2 separate regions of the Homo sapiens genome follow, and region 1 is linked to region 2. The links are contacts of gene promoters, found by promoter capture Hi-C in human tissues and cell types (Jung and others, 2019). All regions are on one chromosome and are shown on one strand. Each heading gives the region's core, a stretch centred on a gene start or on the middle of the fragment in contact. The rest is flanking DNA. Distances are from core to core; before and after follow the strand shown. Region 1 has its middle 55 kb from the start of LINC02101. Region 2 holds the start of ACTBL2 (actin beta like 2).

Region 1 (2,700 bases), core at 132-2,631, 690 kb before region 2:
ATCTACCCTCACGTCCAAATCTAACATAATTGGAGTTCTGGAAATCCCATATCTTTCTGTTCAGCTGCTCTAGTTTAGCCTGTTCCTCATCCTTTACCACCCATTACATCCTTGCCTTAGACCCTTGTATTACCTACTTCTAATCATTGTCTAGTGTCTCTTCAGAAGGCCATGTAGTTATACTCTTGTACTCTATTTCTCTTAAACTCTTGAACCAATGAATCCATCTAGGCGTCATCTTTACTACTTATTTCAATAACAAACTTCTTCTAGCCTACTGACCAAATCTTTTCCAGCCTCCTATCCTAGGTAGGGGTATGGGTTTTCTCTTGTCAATGGATCCTAGAACTATTTTGTCAGTCCTTGGTGATAAAACCTTAGCTCTTTTTGTCCCATTAACAAGAAATTTTAATAATCACTGCTACAACTTGTAGTTCCAACTACAGCTAGCAAAGTAATAATGATATAGTATTATTATTAAGAGAGTTCATCTGGCCGGGTGCAGTAGTTCATACCTGTAATCCCAGCACCTTGGGAGGCTGAGGTGGGTGGATTACTTGAGGTCAGGAGTTCGAGATCAGCCTGGCCAACATACTGAAACCCCGTTTCTACTAAAACTACAAAAATTAGCTGGGCATGGTGGCGTCCGCCCGTAGTCCCAGCTACTCGGGAGGCTGAGGCACAAGAATCGCTTGAACCCAGGAGGCGGAGGTTGCAGTCAGCTGAGATTGCACCACTGCACTCCAGCCTGGGCAACAGAGCAAGACTATCTAAAAAAAAAAAAGAGTTAATTTGCAAGTAATATGAGAAAAATTGATTTTCAAATTAGCTGTGTTTTGCACATACGACATATGAGCGTTACTTTATGGTAACTCTTTCCATCAATATGTATAAATGTAAGAGAGTTTTCTAAGCATATATATCAGAGACCTACTCATTGCAAAACTGGTCATAATATGGGCATTTTGGGTAGTGGTACAATTCAATTCCTGATTTCTCTGTTTTGACACATCATCTTTTCTGAGACGCTTGCTCTTTGAGAGGGTACCCGCTATCTCTGTTTCCCATACTTCCCCTTGAGAAGCCTGCACTGCTTGCTGATTTGAAGGGGAGGAAAATCATCGGGAGTTTTGGAGTGAATCTTATCCCAGTTGTCTCATATGTGCAAAAAGTAGCCATGTTTCAAGACATCTTCATTATTCCCATAAGTGCGTAATAGGAAAAGAAATATCTGCAACCAGAAACTCAAAAAGAAGCAGAAATCTTTATCTGCCAGGACACAAAGAATCTTATTTTACCATCCCTTACAAGATATTTAAATGTCACTTACCCTCTTAGCATGTTAGTTTTCCTCCATCATTGAAATGGGTGACAGTTTTCTGGCCAACTTCATTAATTAGCCAGCCCATCAAGTAAGTAGTTTTTGAGTAAAAATGTTTTAAGCACAATACTACACTATATGCTGGGGAAAGAAAAGTCTATCTAAACTATTACAGACCTATTTCTTGTTTCCCAGGACCATAAAATGAAGCCCATGTAAATTAAACAACTAGGGAAGGGGACTATACATTGTAAATTCTAATATAGGCCTAATAAAGTATCACATAGACAAACTGCATGGAGCAGATATAAAAATAATAAACACACAACATTGTGAAAATCCAAAAGGATTTAATAAATGCTAATTGCTTTTGAGTGATTCATGAAAAAAAGTATTTCAGGACACTATTTAAAGTCTACATTAGCTGGCTCTGGAGGCAGCATAGAAATTTAAAACACAGGCTTTACCCTTCAATGGTTTATAGTTTAATCAATGAAGATTAGATATGAGACCCAATATTAATTATATATATGTGTGTATATATATATATATATGTGTGTGTGTGTGTGTCTGTGTGTGTGTGTGTATATATATATATATTATATATTATATACATATATATATATTTTTTTTTTCAAGATGGAGTTTTACTCTTGTTGCCCAGGCTAGAGTGTAATGGCGCCACCTTGGCTCACTGTAACCTCTGCCTCCTGGGTTCAAATGATTCTCCTGCCTCAGCCTCCTGAGTAGCTTGGATTACAGGTGCCCGCCACCATGCCTGGCTAAGTTTTTGTATTTTTAGTAGAGATGGGGTTTCACCACACTGGCCAGGCTGGGCTCGAACTCCGAACCTAAGGTGATCCACCCGCCTCAGCCTCCAAAAGTGCTGGGATTACAGGCATGAGCCACTGCGCCTGGCCAGTAATATTATCTATAATAAAGAAACTTTCTGGCCTTTCCAGACTAGATTGCTACTTCTTGATATACAAGGCACTGCACTTTTTATAAATACATTAAGCTATTAATTTTATAATTATTTGTTTATTATCTCACTCCCCTATTAGAAAGAAAGCTTGCTTAGAATGGGGACCATGACTCTCCAGTTTGCCACTGTATCTTAGTGTAGATTTTTGGATACAGTGGGTACTCAATAAATACTTTTAAATTAATTAATAATAAATAAGCACACATTTTTGCTATTATATTACTTTATTATATTATATTTATTATGTATGTAATGGGCTGAATTGTGTCACCCTCGAAATTTGCATGCTGAAGTACTCAGAATGTGGCCTTATCTGGAGAAAGGGTTTTTACAGAGGTAATCAAATTAAAATGAGGTCATTAGGGTGGACTAACCCAGTATGACTAGTACCCTC
Region 2 (2,884 bases), core at 146-2,645:
AAGACTCAGGTTAGTTCTCCTGGCCTTGAGCTGGAGGGTGTTTTTTGTCCAGTAAATAGGGGCTGTGCTACCTCTTACAAAGCAAGCTTTATTGGGTAAATGAATGAATGATGAACCCAAATAAAGATTATTTTGGAGAACTCAGATGTAGACATGGAAAATTTCTTTGCTTTACAAGAGCTCACAAAGATAATTATATTCTATTCGCCTAACACATAGGGGAGCAGAAGTAATGAGCTTTCTTAAATGCTATTTCTCTGTAACACATTGCTGATGTCCTACATTTTACCATCATACACATCTTTTCAGGTAGTCTGTATTTCTATATGAAACATGGAACCCAAACAAATTGTTGCTATGAAGTGATCAGGGTGTAATATATCTTGAAATGGAAGGAAAGCTAGTATAATTCTAATTGTATAGATTTTAATAACTACATAGAGGTTTAATGTTATAATATAGTATATGTATCTTGAAGATCAAAATGTTTTAAGGATTAGTTTAAATATATAATTTTTCAAATTTGTCTTATCACTTCATTTTGTCCATTGTTGCAGAACTCAAGAGTTGTTGCAAATAAATAAATTTTTATAACCTGCATCTTAATAAATCATGCAAAATAGTTGACATTCAGTCATTATACAATTAACATGGACCCAATGAACCTGGTTCTATGAACAATGTCTAGACACAGTAAATGTTTAATGAAATTTGGTTGTTAGAAATTTATATCAGAAAAAAGTATCTATATGGGTTAACTTTAGCAATCATTCTATTCCTTTCGCTTGATCTCTGATGGATTAGAAGTCTATTAAATATCTCTACATTTTGCTTGACACAAGTGCATTGTAATTACAGCCATCAGGCCATCCTTAGCCATTTATTATTTTCATTTACTAAAACAGTCTCTACGATGATGACACCCTGTGGGATTAGGAATCTAATGGAAACAAAAATCTTGAAAAAGTGAAGATTGCAGGGTAAGACCCCTCATCAGAACAGTATCTTAAGAATGAAAAGGTAAGCTAGTGTAGGAAAAGTGAATCCTCAGGGACGCTAAGGAGGGAGCCTTCCTCCCAGCAGTGTTGCCATACCTAGCACCAGCTTTCTTTCATCTTGCTTTTATATCCCCCACTGCATCATCATAGTTATCTAGAGACCTCACCAGGCAGGCTGACGGTCATGTGTGGGTTGCCTAATTACAGGAACCTGAGATTTGACCACTTGGCAGCCAATTTTCTCTTTATGTAGAAAGATCTAATTGTTTATGTAATCATCACCATCATTAATACCTCAGAGATGACCTCATCCAGAAATGCTGGGAACTGGTGGAGTAGGACATGGGCGGAGTCAGTGTGTTCCTTTAAATACCTGTGGTCCCGGTGCAGCCTCCCGTGTCTGAAAGCATTTCTGGAGTGTTTTAGGCCTGTTCACTTTCTCTTACTCACTGTCTATTCACTTGTCCTGTTCACTCGTCTGGAAGATCTCAGCCAGCACCATGACTGACAATGAGCTGTCTGCCTTGGTAGTGGATAATGGGTCAGGGATGTGCAAGGCAGGCTTTGGTGGTGACGATGCCCCCCGGGCTGTGTTCCCCTCCATGATAGGGCGTCCTCGACACCAGGGCGTTATGGTAGGCATGGGCCAGAAGGACTGCTACGTGGGAGATGAGGCTCAGAGCAAGAGAGGCGTCCTGACCCTGAAGTATCCTATCGAGCATGGAGTGGTCACCAACTGGGACGATATGGAAAAGATCTGGTACCACACATTCTACAATGAGCTCCGTGTGGCACCAGATGAGCATCCCATCCTCCTCACCGAGGCACCCCTGAACCCCAAGATCAACCGGGAAAAGATGACTCAGATCATGTTCGAGGCTTTCAACACACCAGCCATGTATGTCGCCATCCAGGCTGTGCTGTCCCTCTATGCCTCAGGACGGACCACAGGCATCGTGATGGATTCTGGGGATGGGGTCACTCACATCGTGCCCATCTATGAAGGTTATGCCCTGCCTCATGCCATTCTACGCCTGGATCTGGCAGGGAGAGACCTGACTGATTACCTCATGAAGATCCTGACAGAGCGAGGCTATAACTTCACCACCACTGCTGAGCGGGAGATTGTGCGAGATGTCAAAGAGAAGCTGTGCTACGTAGCCCTGGACTTTGAGCAGGAGATGGTCAGGGCAGCCGCATCCTCCTCACCGGAACGGAGCTATGAACTTCCTGATGGGCAGGTGATCACCATTGGGAATGAACGCTTCCGATGCCCTGAAGCCATTTTCCAGCCTTCCTTTCTGGGCATTGAGTCCAGTGGGATCCATGAGACAACCTTCAACTCTATCATGAAGTGCGATGTGGATATTCGCAAGGATCTCTATGCCAACACCGTGTTATCTGGAGGGAGCACCATGTACCCAGGCATTGCTGACAGGATGCAGAAAGAAATCATAACCCTGGCACCCAGCACCATGAAAATCAAGATCATAGCTCCCCCAGAGCGGAAGTATTCTGTTTGGATTGGGGGCTCCATCCTTGCCAGCCTGTCCACATTCCAGCAGATGTGGATCAGTAAGCAGGAATATGATGAGGCTGGTCCTCCTATCGTTCACAGAAAATGTTTCTGAATGGGCTTCCATATTAGTGGGCTTACATTTTCCCTTTTCCTAGGTCACAGTGATGGTACTGCTTTTATCCGCTTTCAGTAGAATCGAGGTAAATACGTCACTCTTCCTAGTGTAAACCAGCAAACCCATCTCTCCATCCAAGTAACCTGGGCTCTTACCCAGATAACCACATCCGGTTCTCCATCAAGTGAAGGTGAATTCTAATACCATATTCCTTTTTCTTTGCCTATACTGTTCAAAGATAGGTAGGCCAGC

Evidence for each region. Contacts are between HindIII fragments. The study calls those that stand out against the background at their distance.
Region 1: a fragment that was not itself captured here is called in contact with the fragment with the promoter of ACTBL2 in region 2 in 1 of the 25 tissues and cell types used here (dorsolateral prefrontal cortex).

Annotation. Positions count from the first base shown.
Region 1 is chr5:58,176,022-58,178,721 of GRCh38, reverse strand. No RefSeq gene overlaps it. Among named protein-coding and RNA genes, the nearest start is that of LINC02101, 55 kb to the right of the region's middle. The HindIII fragment of the contact is 4,380 bases long and covers 1-2,700 here.
Region 2 is chr5:57,481,322-57,484,205 of GRCh38, reverse strand. It overlaps ACTBL2 (actin beta like 2), which reads left to right and starts at 1,395. Exons shown (of 1, transcript NM_001017992.4): 1 at 1,395-2,884. The coding sequence starts at 1,499. The coding sequence ends at 2,629. All of the region lies in intron 1 of RMEL3 (enriched in melanoma 3), which reads right to left. The HindIII fragment of the contact is 3,416 bases long and covers 1-2,884 here.